2 separate regions of the Homo sapiens genome follow, and region 1 is linked to region 2. Evidence: promoter capture Hi-C in human tissues and cell types (Jung and others, 2019). All regions are on one chromosome and are shown on one strand. Each heading gives the region's core, a stretch centred on a gene start or on the middle of the fragment in contact. The rest is flanking DNA. Distances are from core to core; before and after follow the strand shown.

Region 1 (6,463 bases), core at 3,624-6,123, 44 kb after region 2:
AGTTGTTCAATAGCTGATTCTAGAAGCTCTAAGAGCCAAGGTCTTGTGAGGATCCTTGGTTTGATCCATTTTTTGCTGTATAGATTTGCCTTCCTTTCTTCAAGGAGATAAGAATGAGGATGGATTCTTTATTGATAGATCAGCAGTTTAATGCAGATTGAATTCCAAACATATTTGTTAAGCATATTCTGAGGGTGGTGGAGGAATGGGGGATGCTTACAAAACACTAATATGTGTCTTTTGCTCTCGGTGAGTTTATATTTTAGCAGGATATGCAAGAACATAAAATAAGCATCTAAGTAACTGCTGGGCATGGTGGCTTATGCCAATAATCTCAGTACTTTGGAAGGTTGAGGTGAGCAGATCCCTTGAGTCCAGGAATTTGAGACCAGCCTTGGCAACATGGCAAAACCCAGTCTCCACAAAAAATACAAAAATTAGCCAGATGTGGTGGTGTGTGCCTGTAGTCCCAGCTACTTGGGAGGCTGAGGCGGGATGATCACCTGAACCCAAGAGGGAGGTGGAGGTTGCAGTGACTGAAGATTGCTCCATTGCACTCCATCCTGGGTGACAGAGCAGGACCCTGTCTCAAATAAGTAAACATAATAAATAAATACATAACTGTATTGTTTTCCTTTTTTTGGAGGAGGAAGTTGGATGCTAGGGAAGTTTGCAGAATCTAGCTACATTCAGAGAGGTCTGTTCTCGAGTACAATGTTGGAGGAGAATAGAAGCTTTTCCTCTCCTCCTGGTGTTTGGAATCCCTAATTCCCAACTGTAGAAGGAAAATATCAAGCAGGATATAAGGAAGACAAATAGTAACTACTCCAAAATTAGCACTAAAAGGAAGTAACACTGTGCTTTGCTGAAAATTTAAGGTGAGGCAAAGGTTAAAATATCAGTATTCCTCTTGCACCTATTTCCCTGAGAGATGCTTCCTAGAGGAAAGCTTTCATTTGTAAGTTCCAAGCACTGTAAGGGCTGCTTGAGCATTAGTTGAATGTTTCACATGAACACACACATGCACACACACACACATGCACACACACACACACATGCACATACAAGTTGCTGAAGTGGTTCTACTCAAGTAATTCAGCAGAAAGGTAGCAACATTTGAATGTTATCTTTAAAAAATAAAAAAAACCAACTAGGACATCTATGCCTCACATTTGGAAAGGGATAAAGGCTTACCTTTAGCTCAGTACTATTAATTATCATTTTTTCCTCGGCACTATTCTAAGTGCCCATAAGCCTATTTTGAGTATAATTTCCTGGCAGGCAATCATAATGTTTATGGGAACATCAAAGAATGGCAATAAATAAAATTGATAAGCCACATTAAAAATAATCCCCACTGGATTAAGATGGAGGATAGGAGGCAGTACTACCTTGCAGTTCATGCTCAGAAGGACAGAGCAACCAACGTGTGGAGACGCACATCATGAACTTTTGCTCCAAGACCTACCACAGGAACATACCAGTGAGGACTTGGAGAACTTTTCTGTCTTACAAGAGGGTTGTAAAAACGCACCAATCAGTGCTCTGTAATAATGCACCAATCAGTGCTCTGTAGCTAGCAAGAGGATTGTAAAGTGCACAAATCAGTGCTCTTTAAAATGCACCAATCAGTGCTCTGTAAAACGCACCAATCAGTGCTCTGTAAAATGCAACAATCAGCGCTCTGTAAAACACACCAATCAGCAGGATCCCAAAAGTAGCCAATCACAGAGAGGATTGATAAAAGGGCATTCTGATAGGACAGAAATGGAACACGGGAGGGGACAAATAGGGAATAAAGCTGGCCACCCAAGCCAGCAGTGGAAATCCGTTCAGGTCCCCTTCCAAGCTGTGGAAGCTTTGTTCTTTTGCTCTTCACAATAAATCTTGATGCTGCTCACTCTTTGGGTCCATGCCGCCTTTAAGAGCTGTAACACTCACCATGAAGGTCCACGGCTTCATTCTTGAAGTCAGAGAGACCACAACTCACTGGAAGGAACCAACTCTGGACACATCTTAGGGGCTTGTCTAGGATATCACCATGCGGTGAGTCCCATTGGACCCCTTTCACTTGCTATTCTGTCTTTTTTTACTTAGAATTCAGGGGCTAACCACCGGGCACCTGTCGGCCAGTTAAAAGTGACTAGCATGGCTGCTGGACTAAAGACATGGGTGTCAGGCTTTCTGGGAAAGGGCTCTGTAACAACCCCCAACTTTTCAGAGTTGGGAGTGTTGGCTTGCCTGGAACCAGCTTCCACTTTTTCTGTACTTCCAGGCTGAGCTGAGGGTAGACCAAGAGGAAAGCCATTCAGCTCTGGGGTCCTGATAAAAAGTTGGTTGGCCCTACAGCCATGAGCAGAACTCTCAAAGTTACGTGTCTCAAACAAGATTTGTCCATCTATCCTATTTTTCCTGACCCTTGCCTCCTGGGTCCTAAAGCCTGTCAGACAAACTTCCTCCTGCTTCTCTTTTCTGAGGCTAGTCTTGCTTCTAAAAAACACTCCCTGTCTCTGGTGCTTTTCTAGTTTCTCCTATAAGAATGATTTCTAGTATAAATTTCCAGACCCTGTTCCCTTCTTTAGGCACTCAGCCTCGCCAATCAGAAAGACATAATTTTTGCCCAAAGCCTTGTCAGTAGGGGGACTATCTGGAATTTTAGGATTCCTCCTCAGACTAGCAGGCCTAACAAAGTCTATTCCCAATGCTAGGGTATGGGGAGCCTCAGAAATTATAGACTCCAAAATTGGGGTAGACATCCTTCCTATTCATATGGTGAGAAGTGAGGACAAAAGGTGTCACTCTTTCAACCCTGATCCCTTCCCTCCCTCAGGTATGGCTCTCCACTCCATTTCAAGGCATATCATCTTTATAGGACAAGGGTAAGGTCCCAATACTAACAGGAGAGAACGTTTAGGACTCTAACAGGTTTTCGAGAATGCATCTGTAAGGGCCACTAAATCCGATTTTTCTTGGTCCTCTTTGTGGTCTAAGAGGAAAGGCAAAGGTGCAGGTTTTTGAGAAAGCATTGGTAAGGGCCACTAAATCTGACCTTCCTCAGTCCTCTTTGTGGTCTAGGAGGAAAACTAGTGTTTCTGCTGCTGCTTCGGTGAGTGCAACTATTCTGAACAGCAGGGTCCAGGGACCATTGCAGGTTCTTGGGCAGGGAAAAAACAACAACAAAAAAAACATGGGTGTTTTTTTCTTTCAGATGGGAAACACTCAGGCATCAACAGGCTAACCCTTGAAATGCATCCTAAGCCATTGGGACCAATGACCCACAAATCCTGAAAAAGAAGCAGCTTATTTTTTCTGCCCTTTGGCCTGGCCCCAATATTCTCTCTCTGATGGGGAAAAATGGTCACCTGAGGGAAGTATAAATTATAACACTATCCTGCAGCTTGACCTTTTCTGTAAGTGGGAAGGCAAATGGAGTGAAATACCTTATGTCCAAGCTTTCTTTTCATTGAAGGATAATCCACAACTATGCAAAGCTTACAATTTACATCCCACAGGAGGACATCTCAGCTTACCTCCACATCCTAGCCTCCTTACAATTCCTCTTCCTATTAGTGATAAGCCTCCTCTAATCTCCCCCACCAAGAAGGAAACAAGGAAAGAAATCTCCAAGGGACCACAAAACCCCCCGGGCTATCAGTTATATCCCCTTCAAGCTGTTTGGGGGGGTGGAATTTGGCCCAACCCGCGTACATGTCCCCTTCTCCCTCTCCGATTTAAAGCAGATCAAGGTAGACCTGGGGAAGTTTTCAGATGATCCTGCTAGTATATAGATGTCCTACAGGGTCTAGGGCAAACTTTCAACCTCACTTGGGGAGATGTCATGCTATTGTTAAATCAAACCCTGGCCTTTAACAAAAAGAATGCAGCTTTAGCTGCAGCCTGAGAGTTTGGAGATACCTGGTATCTTAGTCTAGTAAATTATAGAAGGACAGCTGAATAAAGGGACAAATTCCCTACTGGTCAGCAAGCCGTGCCCAGTATGGATCCCCACTGAGACCTCAACTCAGATCATGGGGACTGGAGTTGTAAACATCTGCTGACCTGTGTTCTAGAAGGACTAAGGAGAATTAGGAAAAAGCCCATGAATTATTCAATGATGTCCACCGTAACTCAGGGAAAGGAAGAAAATCCCTCCACCTTCCTTGAGCAGCTATGGGAGGCGTTAAGTAAATATACTCCCCTGTCACTTGACTCTCTCAAGGGTCAATTGATCCTAAAAGATAAGTTTAGTACCCAATCAGCCACAGATATCAGGAGAAAGCTCCAAAAGCTAGCCCTGGGCCCTGAACAACATCTGGAGGCATCATTAAACCTGGCAACCTTGGTGTTCTATAATAGGAACCAGGAGAAACAGGTCAAAAAGGAAAAGTGAGATAGGAGAAAGGCCACAGCCTTAGTCATGGCCCTCAGACAAACAAATCTTGGTGGTTAAGAGAGTACAGAAAATGGGACAGGCCAATCACCTGGTAGGGCTTGTTATCAGTCTGGTTTGCAAGGACACCTTAAAAAAAGATTGTCCAAAGAAAAACTAGCTGCTCCCTCGCCCATGTCCACTACACCAAGGCAATCATTGGAAAGCACACTGCCCCAGAGGACAAAGGTTCTCTGGGCCAGAAGCCCCCAACAAGATGATTCAACAATAGGACTGAGGGTGCTCAGGGCAAGGACCAGCTCATGCTGTCACCCTCACAGAACCTGGGGTACATTTAACTATTGAGGGCCAGGAAATTGACTTCTTCCTGGACACTGGCACAGTCTTCTCACTGTTAATCTCCTGCCTCAGATGGCTGTCCTCAAGGTCTGTTACCATCCGAGGAATCCTGGGACAGCCTGTAACCAGGTATTTCTCCCACCTCCTCAGTTGTAATTGGGAGACTTTTCTCTTTTCACATGCTTTTCTTGTTATGCCTGAAAGTCCAACACCCTTATTAGGGAGGGACATATTAGCCAAAGCTGAAGCTTTTATCTATATGAATATGGGGAACAAGTTACCCATTTGTTGTTCCCTACTTAAGGAGGGAATCAACCCTGAAGTCTGAGCATTGGAAGGACAATTTGGAAAGGCAAAAAATGCCCAGCCAGTACAAATCAGGCTAAAAGACCCCACCACTTTTCCTTATCAAAGGCAATATCCCTTAAGGCCTGGAGCTCATAAAGGATTACAGGATATTGTTAGAAATTTAAAAGCTCAAGACTTAGTAAGAAAATGCAGCAGTCCCTGCAACACCCCAATTCTAGGAGTACAAGAACTGAATGGTCAGTGGAGACTAGTGCAAGATCTTAGACTCATCAATGAGGCAGTAATTCCTCTATATCCAGTTGTACCCAACCCCTATACCCAGCTATCTCAAATACCAGAGGAAACAGAATGGTTCACTGTTCTGGACCTCAAGGATGCCTTCTTCTGCATTCCCTGCACTTTGACTCCAAGTTTCTCTTTGCCTTTGAGGATCCCACAGACCACACAGCCCAACTCACATGGATGATCTTGCCTCAAGGGTTTAGGGATAGCCCTCATCTGTCTGGTCAGGCACTGGCCCAAGATCTAGACCACTTCTCAAGTCCAGACACTCTGGTCCTTCAGTATGTGGATGATTTACTTTTGGCTACCAGTTTGGAAACCTCATGCCAGCAGGCTACTCTAGATCTCTTGAACTTTCTAGCTAATCAAGGGTACAAGGCATCTAAATTGAAGGCCCATCTCTGCCTACAACAAGTCAAATATCTAGGCCTAATCTTAGCCAGAGGAACCAGGGCCCTCAGCAAGGAACAAATACAGCCTATACTGGCTTATCCTCACCCTAAGACATTAAAACAGTTGTGGGGGTTCCTTGGAATCACCAACTTTTGCCAACTATGGATCCCCGAATACAGTGAGATGGCCAGGCCACTCTATAATCAAGGAGACCCAGAGGGCAAATACTCATCTAGTAGAATGGGAATCAGAGGCAGAAACAGCCTTCAAAACCTTAGCAGGCCCTAGTACAAGCTCTAGCCTTAAGCCTTCCCACAGGACAGAACTTATCTTTATACATCACAGAGACAGTGGGAATAGCTCTTGGAGTCCTTACTCAGACTCGTGGGACAACCCCACAGCCAGTGGCATACCTAAGTAAGAAAATTGAAGTAGTAGCAAAAGGCTGGCCTCACTGTTTATGGGTAGTTGAAGCAGTGGCCATCTCAGTATCATAGGCTATCAAAATAACACAAGGAAAGGGTCTCACCATCTGGACTACTCATGATGTAAATGGCATACTAGGTGCCAAAGGAAGTTTATGGCTATCAGACAACTGCCTGCTTAGATACCAGGTGCTACTCCTTGAGGAACTGGTGCTTCAAATATGCACACTTGCAGTCCTCAGCCCTGCCACTTTTCTCCCAGAAGATGGAGAACCAATTGAACGTGACTGCCAATAAATTGTAGCCCAGACTTATGCCTCCAGAG
Region 2 (6,779 bases), core at 1,718-4,217:
GTACAATGGCAGCTTCCAGGGGGTGAGGAGAGGGAAGGATGGGGAATTAATATTGTTTAAATAGTACCGAGTGCTAAGGTTAACACTTCTTCCTATCACTGTGGCCAATAGAGCCTGCCTTGACCATTGCATGGAAAGATTTTAATCTCTATGATACCAAGGCATCTTTGACTTTCTAATGCTGCTAGAGATCATAAATATAATGTCTATGTCACATACATACTAACACAAAAGGGTATTTTTATCTTATTGCCAATGTACCTATTTTCTTTTTATATAATTTGAGATGTGATATTTCACTCATATCAGTAAGTTAAATATTTTGGTATATGGATAGCAAAGATAGTAAATGACCATTTCCTTGACGGAATTAATTTAGGAGCAACGTAGACCCAGAAGTGGTCTAACGTACATTTTTCTCCCAATCTAAATGTATCAGATTTACTTGGTGCACATATTAGTCTCCCTACTTAAAATAATCATGCTTCTTCATTCTACCTGTTCAAATTCCACCCATTATTTAGAGCCCAGGTGAAGGCAAATATTTTACAAATCATTTCCTGACTATCCCAGCCCATATTCATCTTCCTAACCTCTAGTCTCTATTTAATCATTTAGTGCTTAGTGATAGAATGCTTTGTATTATTTGCTATCATTTTATATTTTAAAACCAACTAAAATGTATGAAACAACTGATAATTATTCCAGCCTGAAAGGACAACCTGAGACAGTGATACAAGGTAAATTCAATAAAACCAAAATGTGAACTTGTTTATTCTCTTTAAAGCCTACCCAACATGAACATGAGTTCAAAAATACTATTGATTTGGGTTATCCAATGAGTTACTTCTAAAAACTTGTTTATGGAAGACTGGAGGAATTCTTTCCTTCTCTCTCACCCCCAGCACACACACATAATACAACACATAAACTAGCACACACACTCAACCACACATACTTGGACATGAGTAACAAGTGTATGGAAAGAAACTCTCTGGATACTAAAACAATAGAGCACACTACGTGTGCTCAAAATTCACACACCCACAGTCATCTATAACCTAAATTCAGAGTCCGTTTCATTGGTGGTTAGGGCACGCCTCTGGGCATTGAACTGCTGGGTTAATCTGGGAATTATTCTTTTAGATCAGACATGAAATCAAGCAGAGAAAAATGAGAGAGGAGGTGGAGGGTAGTTGTCTTTTTCCTGCAATAAGAAAATGTGTATTCCAACAAACTGAAGAAAATTGAGTTCACTGTTTATAGTTAAAACTACATATTACTTTGAGTTCAAATTCTTTCTATTAATACATAAGATTTATTGAAGTTATATTGTTTGAGTAGGATCAAGAAAGCTGAATATTATTTCAGGTTTTCAAGCCATAAGGACAAATAGTGCCTTTAGGTTTTCCATTCAACTAGGAAAATTATAGCTTCATATTTGCAACACTAAAGCTAATGCAGTGTCAGCACCTCCATCAAACTCCGTTGTTCAGCAGTTTATAATTCAAGCAGAAATGTTCACTCCAAGACCAAACTTGGCCTACACAATCTCAAAGAAAATGGAGAAAAAATTATTTTGGCTAGCGCTGACTTATAAAAGCAAAAGAGAGGGTGCTTTTACAAAGTGCTTTGAAAAACATCTTTGAGAATTTGAGAATGTAACTGGGGATTACTGAGTTGACATCCAGCATTACTAAAGTTATAGAAAGGACCCAAAATTCCATGACATCACATCAGCATCAGGAGTATCACAACTACTTTCATGAAATTCTTCATCAGGACTAATTTCCTTATCAAACAGAATTACTGTTAATAGGAAAAAAAAACAGTTATAGTGGAAAATAAAGACAGGTAAAAATTTCTCATGAAGGCAACACAAGACTTTAGATCCATTTTCCCTTTAAGTACTGACTCTCTAGTGCACCATACAGACATATATAAAATGAAAAAAAAATTTTTTTTCCCCACTTTTCAAAGTAGTTCATAATGGCGGGCTGGAATTTCCAGAAACAACTTTTCTCTTCCCAAATGCTAACTTGTACGTAGAAACAGCTTAATGTAGAAGGGGATTTCCAGCTGCAGGTGACAAGAGCTATTGGGCTCCTCATTTACTGAAGCTGGGTGGGGAGCCAGTGAATTCTGGGATCTCATGCACTTTGAAGTCCTGTGGTAGGTGGTTTGTAGATTGCCTGGTGCCTTTGTGGCATTCTGTGGGTAAGTTGGCCGCCAACCCCTCATTGCTCTGATCTCCCACACCTTAAAAATATGTCAAAACTTTAATATAGTGGGATCAGGGCATTACATTAAAAAATCATCTTTTCCTATCTATACAAGGCTCGCTTGTACTAAATACAGTGTAATTCTAGGCACTCCGTGTCTGTTTTCACTCAGCATTTATTAAAGCCCTATTATGGGCCAGGCCACAGATGATTTGATGCGATTCTCATCCTTTAGAAGGTTTCAGGAGAAAACAAAAAGTCCATAAAAGGAATTCCAGTACAATTGTGGAGTGCCATCTGGACGACTTCACTGAAAAGGTTCTGGAGGTGTCAGAGCGACACCTCCTCTCTTCCCCACTAGGCAGTTCTCACCAACCTTTGAAATCACACTGACTCACCTGGTGGGTGTTCCCTTAAGTTCCGTTCGTTTATCAAGCACTTCCTGTCCCTGGGACCCTGGGTCCTGGAACCATCAGGCCACGGAGAGATACGGAAGAGAGGGCGAGCCTTAAGGCGTCGCCTAGGAGGGTCTGGCCGGGCCTCTGGCATTGCCGGGGGCAGGGAGGGCTTAAAGGGCTCAAGGCTCACCTGATTGAACTGTGCAGCTATGAGCGAGGGTTCCCATATCTTAGAACTGGTGTTCACAGTTCCTCCTTTCTCCTTCTTGGGTGCCATGCAAAGGACGGGAGAAGCATTGGCCTCTAAACTGGGCGCAGGCCCTGCCTAAGCGTCCCCGCTACCACAGTAACCGAAGCCACGCCCAGTTCCTGAACCACGTCGGCTCCCCTCCCCCAACACCGTTCGGAATCCTTGGGTCAACCGCCTCCGTCTCCACAGCAACGGAGTTTCAGAGCGCGCGGCAGCTTGGGGGCGGGGTTCCCAGTCCCCCGGTCAAATTTTAGGACTTTTCAGCAGGAAAGCTGCACAACTGGAGGAGGGCAGGACGAGGCTGGCCTCGCAGGTCGGGCTACGTTCTTCTACGGTCTGAGGCGTTGTCTAGAAACTCAAAATCTCTGGAATCCCATCCAGGACTCCTCCATCAAGATTTCTTCCGATCCTGAGTAACCAAGATTGGAATACTGACCCCTTCAGGAGGCAGCCCATGCCGTTTTTTCCCAACCGCTCTAATCTGCCCCAAATGCTTCCTTATATGAATCCAAATTTGTCTCTCCTTGACCTCTACCCTCTGCACTGTTTCAGCCTCCGCCTCTGGGGCCTTACTAAACAAGTCCAATCACCCTTCCACGTGACCCCTTATCTAACTGTAGGTGGGATTAATGTACTTATCTGCCCAAACAGCTCCAGTCCTTTAAACTGCCTTTTATTGATTGGTAAGTAGACTTTTTTTTCCCCTTTTTTCCCACCCTGCACTCATCAATATCTAAAATATCCTGGTTGGACAAGTTTCCCAAAATAATGATAGTAATAAAAACCATTGTTTCTTGGGCACTGGTTATATGCTATATACAAGATTATTTCATTTAATTCTCACAACCACCTTATCCAATTCCCACAGTGTCTGATTGATGGTGCCAGGATTAGATCCCAGGATTATCTGAGTCACAGATCTAGTGTGCATAACTGCTACACTGCTGTCTACTACTGTTTTAGGCCTGCCAAAATGAGGGATACCCCCTTCTGGAGCTAGATTTACTTTTGTTTTTTATTGCAGTGAGACAAATTTGAGGACACCCTGGGGCAGAGCGCAACCAAAGGTGCCTTGCGGTCTCATTAGTCATATGGAATTCAGCACTGACCAGGGCTTAACTAGCCATTAAGGCCCTGCACTTTGCCTAGAGGTGAGATGCTTCAGTTATCCCAGTGGCCCAGATGAGTGAGGTGATGCAAGCCAGAAACTTAATTTCCCTGGGCACAACCTGATGAACGGGTGACCTTCCACGGGGGATGTTCTAAACCTTTTAATTGCTAACCCTTTTAATTTCTTTGAGGAATAAATTGAGGGAAGGAGGATAGTGCTATCCAGCCACTAGCATCCTTTTTCATTTGGGGGCAAATTTTAATGATGATGCTTCAACTTTTGTTCGTAATTTGGACCATGAAAGGAAGTTTATCTTTCCACCCTAATTCTTTAATATAGTTAGAGTGAGCCCTCCCATCATCACAGTTCTTCATCCCTGGATTTAACCAACTTTGGATCCAAAATATTAAAACATAAATAAATATACAAATAAAAATACAGCATAACAACTATTTTACAGCATTTACATAATATTAGATATTATAAATAATCTAGATATGATTTAAAGTGTAGGAGAGGATGTGCGTAGGTTATGTGCAAATACTAGGCCATTTTATTGAGAGGTGAAGCCAGCTGGACTTCCTGGGTTGAGTGGGGACTTGGAGAACTTTTCTTACAACAGGATTGTAAAATGCACCAATCAGCACTCTGTAGCTAGGATTGTAAAATGCACCAATCAGTGCTCTGTAGCTAACAAGGGGATTGTAAAATGCACCAATCAGTGCTCTGTAAAAATGCACCAATCAGTGCTCTGTAAAATGCACCAATCAGCACTCTGTAAAATGCAGCAATCAGCAGGATCCTAAAAGTAGCCAATCGTAGTGACGATTGAAAAAAGGGCGCTCTGATAGGACAAAAACAAAACATGGGCGGAGACAATAAGGGAATAAAAGCTGTCCACCACCAACCAGCAGCGGCAACCTGTTGGGTCCCCTTCAATGCTGTGGAAGCTTTGTGCTTTTGCTGTTTCACTCTTCACAAAAATCCTTGCTACCACTCACTCTTTGGGTCTGTGCCATCTTTTTTTTTTTTTTTTTTTTGAGATGGAGTCTCACTCTGTTTCCCAGGCTGGAATGCAATGGTGGATCTCGGCTCACTGCCAGCTCTGCCTCCCAGCGGAGGCAGACTGGGTTCACAACAGTCTCCTGCCTCAGCCTCCTGACTAGTTGGGACTACAGGCGCCCAGCACCACACCTGTCTAATTTTTGTATTTTTAGTAGAGATGGGGTTTCACTGTGTTAGCCAGGATGATCTCCATCTCCTGACCTCGTGATCCTCTCACTTCAGCCTCCCAAAGTGCTGGGATTACAGTCGTGAACCACCGCACCCGGACAGGGTCCATGCCATCTTTAAGAGCTATAACACCGTGGAAGCCTGGGCTTCATGCTCGAAGTCAGCGATACCATGAACCCACCGGCAGGAACCAAATGCAGACACATCATTAAGGGACTTGAATATCAGACATTTTTCTATCTGAGAACGTGAAGGGTCCTGGAACTAATTCCCTGTGGATACCAAGGGACCATTGTATTAAAGAAAAATAATTTCTAGAAACAGTCTTTCACAGAAACTTTACAGAAAAATACGAGTTTTTATTTCTTGCTGGAATAAATACAGTTCATCTTCTTGGGAGGGAATAGATAGATCCTATGGCAGCCTGGCCATAGGCTAAATAATTTACATCTGGAAGCCCTCTTTTGTCATGAAAATAAAATAACTGATGCATGGTAATGCCAGAGAGAGATCTGCCAGAAAAGAATTTTCCTGAGAGTCTATAACAACACCGAGGCTGCTGTTAATTTTCATAGCATTTTCTCCAAAATTTTGTTCCTCACCAAAATTTTTTCAGCATTTGTAAGATGAAAATTTTCTTTGTATTATGGCTAGAAAATAAAGTTGAGTCTCTTTCAGACCAAAAAAAAAAAAATCTACCTAATCATTAATTAGATCATTCTAAATTTTGATTAAGTTCTCATAGTTTTAAACTGGGGGAAAAAAAGTCCTGCCTTTTTATTTAAAACGTAGTAAAAAGTTTGTTGGCATTCCGGGATATTTTATTAAAAAATTTAGCTGTTTGTGCGTGTCTCGCTACATTACTAATATTCTTTCTTCTTGAATGTGAACGCACACTTCAAAATAAACCATTACCTGCAATCAGTTTTGCCAGATCACTAGCAGATGATTAATAAAATACGTTGCAGATAAGAAGAGGAAAAAATAGAATAAGCAGAAAAAAAGTAAAATTAAGTGTTATTTAAAAATTGCAGAGATAGTGTCACTAGCCATTTTTTTTAACAAGTGACAGCTGTCCAACCACAATATTGGCAGCAGTAAGATGTTTGCAATATTTATTGTGACAGAAACTATCCAGTTGTTCATCAGACATTTCCTTTTATTTTCTCCTAATATGGGAGTCAGACATTTTTTGGCCTTCCTTATTCTTAGATGTGAACATGTGACTGAGTTCTAGCCAAGCCTGGCCTTGAAAAATGTCCCCCAGCATTCTTCATACCCTTTTTGCTTGATATTGGGGTGGCATTGAAAACCTTGAATCTCTGAATGATTGCTGTGACACAGAGGTCTCTCCTTCCCCTGAAGATCATCTTGCTCCTCCCACCAAAAGCATTTGCTTGGGACTATTATGTAGGTGAGAATTAAACATTTTTCTTAAAGCTGCTGAAGTACTGGGGTTTGCTACAGCAGCAAGGGTTACCGTAACTACCCTAACATTTTTTATCATTTTCATCTGAGAATCACCTGTTAATAAATCTAACACCAGCCAGCCTTTCTGAAACTGC

Evidence for each region. The method cuts DNA at HindIII sites, captures the fragments that hold promoters and counts their contacts. A contact is called where the count stands out against the background at its distance.
Region 1: a contact is called between a fragment that was not itself captured here and the fragment with the promoter of SPAG17 in region 2, in 1 of the 25 tissues and cell types used here (heart left ventricle).

Annotation. Positions count from the first base shown.
Region 1 is chr1:118,224,070-118,230,532 of GRCh38, forward strand. No RefSeq gene overlaps it. Among named protein-coding and RNA genes, the nearest start is that of SPAG17, 42 kb to the left of the region's middle. The HindIII fragment of the contact is 4,437 bases long and covers 2,656-6,463 here.
Region 2 is chr1:118,182,261-118,189,039 of GRCh38, forward strand. SPAG17 (sperm associated antigen 17) reads right to left here and starts at 2,968. Exons shown (of 49, transcript NM_206996.4): 1 at 2,811-2,968. The coding sequence starts at 2,897. It overlaps LOC105378930 (a long non-coding RNA gene), which reads left to right and starts at 2,970. Exons shown (of 4, transcript XR_947746.3): 1 at 2,970-3,553; 2 at 3,895-4,021. The HindIII fragment of the contact is 16,923 bases long and covers 1-6,779 here.